Regions from separate parts of the Homo sapiens genome. Here all the other regions are linked to region 1. Evidence: promoter capture Hi-C in human tissues and cell types (Jung and others, 2019). All regions are on one chromosome and are shown on one strand. The core of a region is centred on a gene start or on the middle of the fragment in contact, and the rest is flanking DNA. Distances in the headings are between cores, read along the strand shown.

Region 1 (2,770 bases), core at 134-2,633:
GAGCTACTCACTGATTACCCTTTTTAGCTTTTTGTCCATCTGAAATGTTCCAAAGAAAAGCTGTAAGGGATGACAATGCCATCATGGGTGGAGTTAGAAGGGGTCTCTGGTCTCCGACCTGACTGGAGAGCCCACCCTTCCCTGGTGGAAAAAAGCCTCCTCCCCAGCAGGCCCTGCCTATGCTCTTGCAGCAGGGGCAGGAAACAGGAACAGGTCCCAGAACGGGCCAGTCTCCCTCTTGGCAGTTTTTCTTCTGGGATCTGAACCTGTTTTACCTGACGCCGCCTGACACTGCCTCGGCTCCTCTCTCCCACCAAAAGCCGCAGCCGCTGGTGACGGGAACAGGGCTCCCATCCGGGTAAGGACCCTGGCTGGTGCAGCTGCACAGGTGGCTCCGAGAAACCGCCAAGCCTCAATGCCCACAGGTGCCATGGAATCCCCAGCCTCAAACGTGGAGCGTGGGGGCCAAGTAAGAAGAGAAGTCGAGGAAGGCCCTGAGTCTGCAGCATCAGGGCCCAGGCTTCTTCCTCTCTGCTCCGAGTCTGAGGCTCAGCCTAACGTGGCCAACCCCTGGCAGCGTTAAAACGAGCCTGAAGCCCTGCTGAGAACTGGGAGGCACAGAAGAGCCCACACCAGACCCGCCTCGGCGAGAGGTGTGGAAGTGGCGCTGCCTCGGAAAGGGCGCTGTGTTTAAACCGTGTGGCCGCACTGGCAGCCCGGACGCCGCGCTAGGCCCCGGATCGCCGACACCACTGGGAGGGCTCCGGGAGAACGCGGCTCGGGCTCGAGCCACGCATCTCCGCACCCGGCTCGGGACAGGGCCGTGGCCTCCACCTCCGGCAGGGCAGGGCCGAGGGTGGCCAGGTGCACCCCAGAGCCGAGGGGTGCGTGCCCGCCGGCCTGCGAGAGGAAGCTGCACCCGCGCGGGGCCAGCAGCCGGGCCCGCGCAGCGTCCCCCGCCCCGCTGGGGCCCATCCCGGGCTCCGCGCCCCCGCCCCGGCCGCCGCCCGCACAACCGCCCCCGGCCCCGCGCGGAGGCCTGGACGGGCGAGACGGGCCGGGTCGCGGGCTCCGCGCCGCTCACCTTCCCGGCCACCCGGCCGAGCCGCACGATACCCAATTTGAAGTCGGTCATGGCCGGGCCTGCGCTCTCGGCCGGCAGCGCCGCTCCCTCGGGAGGCGCCGAGCGGGGGCCGGGGCGAGGCCGCGGCGCGCCGGGACAGGACGGGACCGGAGCCGGGGTCGGGGTAGCAGCCAGGCGGGCTCCGGGCGGGACGAGGCTGGGCCGGGCTCGGGCCTCCGCCGCCGCCTCGCGCCCGCCGGACCTGCCACGCGCCGCCGCCGCCGCCGCCACCGCCACCGCGCGCACCACAGCGAGCGGAGCGGAGGGGCGGGGCGCAGCCCCGGACACACCCCCCGGCCCGCCGCCGCTCGGCCAATGGCTAGGCGCGCACGGCGCCGACCGGCGCGCGCCGCCCCGCAACAACCAATAGGAGGAGGGCGAGTGCGCCGGCGCTCTGGGGAGCGGGGCGAGCGCGGGGGAGGGGCGAGGCCGGGGGCGGTGCCTGCGCGCGCCGACGTCAGTTTCGCGGGAAGCTTTGTGCGGGCAGCGGCGCCGCGCCTAGAGGGGCAGTGCGGAGTGTGGCTGGGGACTCGCGCCGGGTCCGTGGAGCTCTGCGAGCTGGCTGCTTTTCGCCTCCCTTGCGGTAGCCTCCGTAAGCTGTTTCCCGCCGCCGTCCTGGCCCCGAGCGCGGAAGGAGGAGGTGGACGGAGCTCGTGCGGGGCCCTCTGGGCGGGCGGGGAGCGGGCGAGGCGGGCTAGGAAGAGGCCGTTGCCGCGGGACGCGGGTGTTTCTGGAGAGACAGCGGACGCCCGGCCCACGCGACCCGGAGGGCGCGGCCTCCCGCGCAGCCTTCTCCGAGCCGCCGGCTCTTCAGCCTCGGGGGCGGCTGACCTCCAGAGCAGCCTGGTCCAAGGCGTCTGGAAACGGAACTCCAGTGAGGCCCATTAGGCTCCGCGGGAAAGCCGAGACCCGCTCAGGGAGGGACTGGGTACGCCGTGGTGGGCAGCGTGGCTCCCCTGCAGCCTGGAGCGAACGGGGCTAGGTCCTGCGTCCTGCTCCGCCGGTGTCCAGTCGCCCGTGAGGAGGCCTCACCCTGCCTCAAGGGCGACTCCTGCACCTGAGGAGCTGCACAGGCTCCTTTCTGGCTTGCTGGGTTCCGTTTTCTTTTCTTGCTTTTTTTTTTTTTTTTTTTGAGTCAGAGTTTTGCTCTGTCACCCAGGCTAGAGTGCAGTGGCACGATCTCGGCTCACTGCAGCCTCTGCCTCTCGGGTTCAAGCGACTCTCCTGCCTCAGCCTCCCGAGTAGCTGGGACTACAGGCACGCGCCACCATGTCCGGCTAATTTTTGTATTTTTAGTAGAAGTGAGGTTTTTCCATATTGGCCAGGATGGTCTCGAACTCCCAACCTGAGGTGATCGGCCCACCTCGGCCTCCCAAAGTGCTGGGATTACAGGCATGAGCCACCGTGCCCCAGCCTGCAAAGGGTGTACATGAGTGAGCCCAGACGTTCCATCTCTGGGTCCCCTGGTACTTGCCAGTACCCCAGACACCCTAGAGGACTGAAGGGGCTGATGAGTCCTGGCCTGCCTGAGACACACATTGGGGTTCAGGCTGGGCCTTGCTCAAAACATGCCTGTCCGACCGCGCGCGGTGGCTCATGCCTGTAATCCTAGCACTTTGGGAGGCCGAGGCGGGCAGATCACGAGGT
Region 2 (2,770 bases), core at 135-2,634, 430 kb before region 1:
GGCCACGGCGCGGTGGAGCACGTACACACGGGCAAGAGAAAGGAGCCAGAGACCTACATTCAAAGCCTGAGGGCTTCGGGACTGGGGGCCGGGACAGGCAGTGCGCCGGGATGAAGGGAGGCACGGGTGGGTGGCCCCACGGGTCCCAGGTCCTGTGCAGGTGCAGGGTCGGCTTTGTGGACATGCCCCTGTCCTCGTGGCACAGCAGGGTGGGGGTCAGCCTGCAGGCTGGGCTGTTTCTCACCCCAGGAAGATGCCTGGCATACACGGGACATCAGCGGCTCCTCTGCTGGAGGGAATCATGTCTTTTTTTTTTTGAGACAGAGTCTCGCTCTGTCGCCCAGGCTGGAGTGCAGTGGCGCGGTCTCCGCTCACTGCAAGCTCCGCCTCCCGGGTTCACGCCATTCTCCTGCCTCAGCCTCCTGAGTAGCTGGGACTACAGGTGCCCACCACCACGCCCGGCTAATTTTTTTGTATTTTCAGTAGAGACGGGGTTTCACCGTGTTAGCCAGGATGGTCTCGATCTCCTGACCTCGTGATCCGGCCGCCTCGGCCTCCCAAAGTGCTGGGATTACAGGCGTGAGCCACAGCACCTGGCGGGGAATCATGTCTAAGCCAAGACTGGAGAAAAAGTGGCCAAGAGAAGGGTCCAGCTCTCCAGGAGTCTTTTCTGAGCCCCCAGCCCCCACCCCCCCGGGGCTGCAGGCAGACGATGCTGACGGTGGCTGGGGAGGACGTGTCCTGAACACTTGGGCTCGTGAAGAAGCTCCAGAGAGGGGCAGTGGCCGGCGGCGCAGGGCGGGGGGTGTGAGGGGTGCGTCGGGGATTAAGAGGGGCGCCAGGGGAGGCTGGGAGCTGAGAAGAGACTGCCGCCCTGGGCAGCCTTAGGTCGGTGGTCCAGGCTGGGTCTCCCCTTCCCCCCCAGATTGTGACGATCCACCAGGAGCCCTTCGTGTACGTCAAGCCCACGCTGAGTGATGGGACATGCAAGGAGGAGTTCACAGTCAACGGCGACCCAGTCAAGAAGGTGATCTGCACCGGGCCCAACGACACGTCGCCGGGCAGCCGTGAGTGCGCGGGGCAGGGCGCGGGGCGCGGGGCAGGGCGCGGGGCGTGGGGCGGTCTGGAGCCCAGCAGTTACCGCCCGCACCTACCCAGCCCGCCACACGGTGCCTCAGTGTTGCTACGGCTTTTGCATCGACCTGCTCATCAAGCTGGCACGGACCATGAACTTCACCTACGAGGTGCACCTGGTGGCAGATGGCAAGTTCGGCACACAGGAGCGGGTAGGCTGGACGGCGGGGGTGGGGACCAGCGTGAGAGGGGCCTGCAGGCGCGGTCGGAGTGGGTGGGGCATGGAGTAGGCGGGGCTTGCAGATGGTGGGGGGTCCTGGGGTGAGTGGGGCATGGAGTGAGCGGAGCCTGCGGGCTGGGTCCTGGCGTGGGTAAAGCATGGGGTGGGCGGGGCCTGAGGGCTGGGTGGGGCCTGACATGGGAGGGGCCTGACGTGGGGGTCGGAGTGGGTGGGGCACGGAGTGGGCAGGGCCTGCAGGCGGGGGTCTGGAGTGGGCGGGACGTGGAGTGGGCGGGGCCTGCTGGCTGTGGTGGGGCCCGCCCGGCGTGGGAGGGGTCTGCGAGCCAGGGCGGGGCTGGAGTGGGGTGGGGCCTGCGAGCTGGGTAGGGTCTTGGGGAGAAGACCCCCGGAGTGCTCTAGGGCGGCTTCAGTCGGGGGTACCTGTGGCGGGAGCTGGGAGGACGCTGCCTGCATGCCCGCCGGCTCTGTCGCCTCGCAGGTGAACAACAGCAACAAGAAGGAGTGGAATGGGATGATGGGCGAGCTGCTCAGCGGGCAGGCAGACATGATCGTGGCGCCGCTAACCATAAACAACGAGCGCGCGCAGTACATCGAGTTTTCCAAGCCCTTCAAGTACCAGGGCCTGACTATTCTGGTCAAGAAGGTGGGCAGGGGCCGGGTGGCGGGGTGGCGGCGGGGGGAGTCCCTGGAGGGCCCGGGCCGCGCTGACCTCGCGTCCCTCCGCAGGAGATTCCCCGGAGCACGCTGGACTCGTTCATGCAGCCGTTCCAGAGCACACTGTGGCTGCTGGTGGGGCTGTCGGTGCACGTGGTGGCCGTGATGCTGTACCTGCTGGACCGCTTCAGGTGAGCGCGACCCGGGGCTCAGACACCTCCATCTGCGGGGCGCGGAGCCGGCCAGGGGCGGGGCAGGGCCGCCTCTCCCGCCCTCTCTCCCGCCCGCCCTCTGCGCCCCGCAGCCCCTTCGGCCGGTTCAAGGTGAACAGCGAGGAGGAGGAGGAGGACGCACTGACCCTGTCCTCGGCCATGTGGTTCTCCTGGGGCGTCCTGCTCAACTCCGGCATCGGGGAAGGTAAGGCCCCGCCCGGCCCGCCTGGTCCCGCCTCGGCCCTCTAGGGTCTGACAGAGCCCCCCGCCCGCCCACAGGCGCCCCCAGAAGCTTCTCAGCGCGCATCCTGGGCATGGTGTGGGCCGGCTTTGCCATGATCATCGTGGCCTCCTACACCGCCAACCTGGCGGCCTTCCTGGTGCTGGACCGGCCGGAGGAGCGCATCACGGGCATCAACGACCCTCGGGTGAGGCCTGGCCGGGCTGGGGGAGGGAATGCGAGGTGAGCTGGGGTCGGCCTCGGTTAGGGGCCTGGGGAGCCGCCGCCGCGATCCCTGCCCTCCGACCCTGCAGCTGAGGAACCCCTCGGACAAGTTTATCTACGCCACGGTGAAGCAGAGCTCCGTGG
Region 3 (2,770 bases), core at 192-2,691, 340 kb after region 1:
AATACTCTCTAGAGGTTTCCCATTGGTTAGCTGCTTACACCCTGTGTAAATGAAGACCAGGCCCTCTACCATTCTGATTGGTCATGGGAGGCGACCAATCAGGTACTTTCCATTTTTCGTCTGCGATACAGTGGAATGGGGGGCGTTGCAAAGGGAGTAGCCTCTTCTTTTGTTACTTGGATGTGGAGAGGTGGAGTTTTCCTTTTGATTTAGTTCTAGGAAGTCAGCACAAATCGGCCTTAGGTTCCTTGCCTCCAGACCCTATTCTCCTGCCTCATTTCCCCCGAGATGTGATCCCCATCATCTTTATAGGAGGCCGAGGGACTGATGGTTTTTTCTTCAGTAACTGCTTCATGCTGATTTGGGCACAGTTCCTACCTATTGGGGATCATGGAACTCTCACCCTGCTCTGTCTAGTGGAGACATGGTAGTTGCTGGATGGCCAGGGGTGGTGTCTTTACCTGGAACTGGCTGGAAACCTTGTCTCATGATCATCTGAAGCTTGATGGTCTCTGGGCGAGAGGAAATGAATTTGTTTAAGAGATTTAATGAACATGGTCCAAAAACCAAGGCAAATATAGTCATTAGTGATGGGCCGGCTAGAGGAAGGAGCCATGCACCTCAACTTAGCATTTCTGACCAGGAGCCCCATGACTCAGACAGCTGTTGTCGTATCTTAGGGGCCCAGTCAGCTAATTTCCAGGCGGCATCCCTTACTAATCCTGATTAGTTGACATAAAAACAGCATTTTTCCTCTAGAAAAAGACATAAGCCACCTTTTTAAGCAGTTAGGAGATCCAGTCCCCTTCAATTCTGTAAAGTGACTGCTGCCAAGGAGTCTGTCTGATTTTGTATGGCGACGATACTTTGGGCAGTGTCTTCTGAGCTTTCCATAAAATCTCTGGACAAGTTAGTGATAGGATAGGGAGATTGCAAGCCTGCTAACTCCCGTTTCTACTCTTGCTGTTCTTCCTAACCCAACCAAAAGGGGTGTGAGTTGGATGGCTCATTTGTGTCTGGTGGTTGCAGTTAAAGGTATAGTGAAGAATTGGTTGTTGGGAGCTACATTAATTTTGGGAGCTAAATAACAAGTTACAGGTTCCAGTCCAGTTGGCTGGTAAATCTAAGTAGGAACTGGTCCCGCACGGGAAAAAGGCTCCTTGTTTTTCAAGACAGAACTTGTTTTCTATGGTGAACACATGGGCTAGCTTGTTGTTTTCACTTTCCCATATGGTTGAGGTCTTTGCTAAGGTGGCCCTGGTTAAAGGCTGGAAAGGATCTTGGGAAGTATCTTGAGTTGCCCCAGCAGTTCTCTTTTCCCAGTGGAGGTAGTTAGGCTTAGTGTCCAGTAACAATCACCCAGAGGTATTTTCATACTGGGGAACCAAAAGGCAACTAGACGTCTCAGGATTAGTACATTCTTCACAAGGGAAACCGTGAATGCAGCTAGTGGGCCTGCCTCGACCATACTTAGGCTGTCCATCCTTTAAAGCCCTTAACCAGGGATGGTTTCCATGAAAACCGTACAGGTTATCTAAATGATGCGGTTTGGGTAACTGTATAGCTTACGTAATCGAGTGAAGGATTAACTTCCAGGGTGTAGTTGCATTGATGACTTTATTTTATCTTTACTTTTATTTATTTATTTATTTATTTATTATATTTTTTGAGATGGAGTCTCTCTCTGTCGCCTAGGCTGGAGTGCAATGGTGCGATCTCAGCTCACTGCAACCTCCACCTCCCAGGTTCGAGCGATTCTTCTGCCTCAGCCTCCTGAGTAGCTGGGACTACAGGCGCGTGCCACCACGCCCGGCTAGTTTTTTGTATTTTTAGTAGAAATGGGGTTTCACTGTGTTAGCCAGAATGGTCTCAAATCTTCTGACCTCATGATCTGCCTGCCTCGGCCTCCCAGAGTGCTGGGATTACAGGTGTGAGTTTTTTGTATTTTTAGTAGAAATGGGGTTTCACTGTGTTAGCCAGAGTGGTCTCAAATCTCCTGACCTCATGATCTGCCCGCCTTGGCCTCCCAAAGTGCTGAGATTACAGGTGTGAGTCACCGCGTCCGGCACATTGATGACTTTTCAAGGTTCCAAGGACCGGACCAGAATTTTCGCTTCTGTTAATACAAAGTGGCACCTGCAATTTTAGCTCTGTGTACATTTATATTGGGCCCCAAATTGGTTTCTGAGGGGATGCAACTCCAGAAAGGTTGCTCAGATGGGATTGGAGTAGGTTTACTGCTTATCCTGTCATTGTAACCCTTGTCATTTCCATGATTTTGAATTCATGTATGTCATCCAGGCTCATTAGTTTGAAGAGAGTTCCTCCTTTGTAGTTAGGGTGATAGGTCATTTCCTTAAGGGCCCAAGATTGGGCTGGGATCAGGATGGCAGTATATTTAGATGATGATGGAGATAAACAAAACCAACAGTCCTTTGCCAGGGCTGGGCTGGTGGTATTTAAGTCTTTGTGTTAAATTTAAAGTTCTTAATAAATACCCAGAATCCACTAATTGCTGGAGGGGTAAAGGGAAGCTCTGTTGTGAAATAAAGCTGATTGCTAGTAAGACATGGTTCCTGTATACACAGGCTGTGGGTGACCATTATGGAACAAAAAAAAAATTACTTATTTGTTATTTTGTCCTATAGAATGGGAACTTCAGGGGGTGGATACCTATGCTGTCAGGAATGCTTGTTATAAAAATGAATTGAAACACTTTGGTTAATTATTACAAAGGAAGTGATTCCATCCATTTTGAATAAAACAAATT
Region 4 (2,770 bases), core at 167-2,666, 290 kb before region 1:
AGGCTGGGCGGTATTTTCAGTGCAACCAAGAAATGGTAGACTCAAGTTTTTAGTTTTAAGACTAGAAAAAAATGCATCACTCCCCCCCATAACCACATTGACCACGCAGTGTTTTCCAAACAAAAAAACCAGGCGCACAAACTCCACCCACAAATGTACACACACAAGATAAATAGTTTAGAACACCAGCAACAGCGAACAGCCGAGCGTCTCCTCGGCCGCGCGCCAGCGGCGCGGACCTCGGACCTCGGGGCTGCTCCTCGGCTGCAGCCGGCATCGGCGCGTCCCGGGCCTGCGGGCGGGTCCTGAAGGCGGCGGCGGAGCGCTCCGAGTCCGCCTTCGGCTCCCGCCGCCCGCCTTTCACCTTCGGGAGAAAACATTTTGCGCAGAGGATCCGGTATCTCGGGATTCCGAACTTGCTGGTTGCGAGACTCAAATTTCAAAAGGGGCTGGAGCCCGCGCCCCGCCCCCACCCGCGAGGCGGCGGGCAGGCGAGCGGGTGGGGGCCGTGGGAAGCTGCTCCGGCCCGGCCGGGCCCGGCTAGGCCGCAGGGAGGCGCTCGGCCGGCGGGGCTGCCGGACCCTGGGGCCGGGACGCACGCGCCGTATTCGCCGTGGCCACGGGCCTTCTGGCGGGGCCTGCGAGCCGGGCGCGCACCGAGGTAGTTGGCGGGAAGGTACAGCAGAGACGACGCGGGCGCAGGGCCGGGGTCCGGGGTCCCGGCGGGCATCACCGGCCGCTGGCCGCGTACTTCGCCTTGGTGATGAGATAGAGCACGATGTCCTGGTGGCCACCGAACGCGGCGATGTGCAGCGCGCTCCAGCCGTCGCGGTTGGCCAGGCGGATGTCGGCGCCGAACTTGACCAGCAGCTTCACGAGCTCCAGGTTGCCGTCGATGACCGACTGGTGCAGCGCCGTCTGGCCCTCGGGCCCGAACGAGTTCACGTTGAACTCGCAGTTGGTCATGTTCTGCAGCAGCGACTGCAGCTCCTGCGTGTTGCCCTTGCGCACAGCCTCCTGGAAGATGCGCTGCGTCTGCGGCGCGGAGCAGGTGGACAGCTCGGCCTGGCTCATGCTGCCGCCGGGCGCGGGCCGCGGGCCGGGCCGGGGCTCAGCGCGGGCGGCGGCTGCGGCGCGGGCCCCCGGCTGTCTCGGGGCGCGCCTCGGCGCATGGAGGGCGCGGCGTCCCCGGGCCCCGCACGCCGCCTCTGGGCGCTCCGGGCGCTCGGGGCCGGGGGTCGCCGCCGCGGGGACCCCGCCGCATCCAGCCGCGCCCGGGTGGGCGACGGGGGCGCGCGCTCGGCTCGCGGGGGCCGGGCCCGGCCGGGGACGGCGGCGCCGCGCGGTCCCGGTCCCTACTCGGTTCGGCTGCGGCTCCCACGCGGTCCCAAGGCGCCTCCCCACGCGCCGCAGCACTAGCTCGCCCGCCGCGCCGGGGCGCCTTTTACCTTCTTTATATTTGCATAACAATGGCAGCCCGTGACGCGCGCGCCGGCGGCCCCGGGATTGGGCCGCGCCCACATGGGGGCGGGGCGTGGGCGGTGCCGTGCGCAGGGGTCCGGGGGCGGGTCCCGGCGGCGGCGCGCTTCGCGGCAGGGGGCGCTGGTCGCCGGCAGCGCCTGGGCGGGGGAGGCCAGGTGGCCGCCGGGGGGGTCCAGCTCCGTCGCCGCCGCCGTCCGCGCGCCCCCCGGGCGCTCCGCGTCTCTTTGCGGTCGTCCCGCCCCTTCTCCCTCCGGCCACCCGGGGAATTCCAAGCTCCCTCAGCAGCCAGACCCAGGCCTTGCCCGGTACCCGAGCGCGACCGCCAGGTGGCCCCGAGGGCGGCCTCTCCCGGGCAGGGGGTTCGCGGGCATCTCAGGCCCGTGGCGAAGGAGAGACCCCTCTGAGCGGAGAGGCGCGCGGCGACCCCGGCCAGCCCGCGCCTCCGGGCTCACCGTCCACGCGGGTGGCAACTCCAGGCCCTGACGTGGGGCCTTCAGCCACGCGGGTCCTTCCCGCGCGCGGGCAGCCTCATGGCCGCCGGCTCAGCCTATGTGTGCCCCAACCGTACTGATGCGAGGGGCCTCCGGCCGGCCACCGCGGCTTCTATCGCCTGGCGGTGAAGGGGGTTCCGCTGTCCTCTCGGGAGGAAGCCCCGGGCCGGGGCGCAGCGGGAGGGTCGGGACCGCGGCCTGCCTCCCTCTGCTGCCCACGCACCAGCATGCGGGACACATAGGTCCTGCCCAGGTGAGCAGGGCTAGGTGTGGCGCCAGGGCCAGAAGGGAATTCTGAAACGCCTGGCTTCCAAACTGTAAAACCCATTTTTATTGACCACTCTAACAATTGACCGGGAGGCACTAGCAGGGGAAGCACAGCGCATTTCCTCATTAGAGTTTTACAGTTTACAACTCGCTGTGGTCGTTGGAAATTAAGGAGGAGTGATTCTCAGGCGCGGAGCAGGAGGCCAGGCAGGCTGGGGCTTGAATTCCTTCTGAAGCCAAGCCGGGAATTCCGCGCAGGCAGCTCTGAGCTCGGGCTGGGGAGACCCCCATGCCAGGCCTTGTCTGAGGAGGCTTCCGCCCACCAGCTCCATGTCCCCACATCCGGCTCCCCACAGGGGTGTGTCCCCACCCCATGCTGTGCCCATACTGGCAGGAAAAACTGGGCAGGCTCCCTTCGGGACAGACCCTGGCTGACCGGAGCAGGGTCCTGAGGCCCTGGGGTCCTCCTGGTGGGCTGGGAACCTCTGTCCCTCAAAGGCACAGCTCAGAGCTCGCTCTGGTCTTCCTGG

Evidence for each region. The method cuts DNA at HindIII sites, captures the fragments that hold promoters and counts their contacts. A contact is called where the count stands out against the background at its distance.
Region 2: a contact is called between a fragment that was not itself captured here and the fragment with the promoter of ZMYND19 in region 1, in 1 of the 25 tissues and cell types used here (lymphoblastoid cells).
Region 3: a fragment that was not itself captured here is called in contact with the fragment with the promoter of ZMYND19 in region 1 in 2 of the 25 tissues and cell types used here (dorsolateral prefrontal cortex and lymphoblastoid cells).
Region 4: a contact is called between the fragment with the promoter of NRARP here and the fragment with the promoter of ZMYND19 in region 1, in 1 of the 25 tissues and cell types used here (lymphoblastoid cells).

Annotation. Positions count from the first base shown.
Region 1 is chr9:137,589,129-137,591,898 of GRCh38, forward strand. It overlaps ZMYND19 (zinc finger MYND-type containing 19), which reads right to left and starts at 1,384. Exons shown (of 6, transcript NM_138462.3): 1 at 1,085-1,384. The coding sequence starts at 1,135. It overlaps LOC124902318 (a long non-coding RNA gene), which reads right to left. Exons shown (of 3, transcript XR_007061885.1): 3 at 1,911-1,980. RefSeq lists an enhancer at 470-519 and silencers at 790-839, 890-999, 1,280-1,669, 1,860-1,929. The HindIII fragment of the contact is 9,636 bases long and covers 1-2,770 here.
Region 2 is chr9:137,160,131-137,162,900 of GRCh38, forward strand. It overlaps GRIN1 (glutamate ionotropic receptor NMDA type subunit 1), which reads left to right. Exons shown (of 20, transcript NM_007327.4): 9 at 926-1,067; 10 at 1,159-1,286; 11 at 1,794-1,958; 12 at 2,042-2,160; 13 at 2,274-2,386; 14 at 2,461-2,609; 15 at 2,716-2,770. LOC105376328 (a long non-coding RNA gene) reads right to left here and starts at 930. Exons shown (of 3, transcript XR_007061878.1): 1 at 54-930. RefSeq lists an enhancer at 2,657-2,770. The HindIII fragment of the contact is 6,049 bases long and covers 1-2,770 here.
Region 3 is chr9:137,931,283-137,934,052 of GRCh38, forward strand. The region is part of intron 6 of CACNA1B (calcium voltage-gated channel subunit alpha1 B); the gene reads left to right. Among named protein-coding and RNA genes, the nearest start is that of CACNA1B-AS1, 14 kb to the right of the region's middle. The HindIII fragment of the contact is 9,868 bases long and covers 1-2,770 here.
Region 4 is chr9:137,300,855-137,303,624 of GRCh38, forward strand. NRARP (NOTCH regulated ankyrin repeat protein) reads right to left here and starts at 1,417. Exons shown (of 1, transcript NM_001004354.3): 1 at 1-1,417. The coding sequence starts at 1,074. The coding sequence ends at 730. RefSeq lists silencers at 275-324, 445-504, 575-654, 1,337-1,976 and an enhancer at 716-1,634. The HindIII fragment of the contact is 30,312 bases long and covers 1-2,770 here.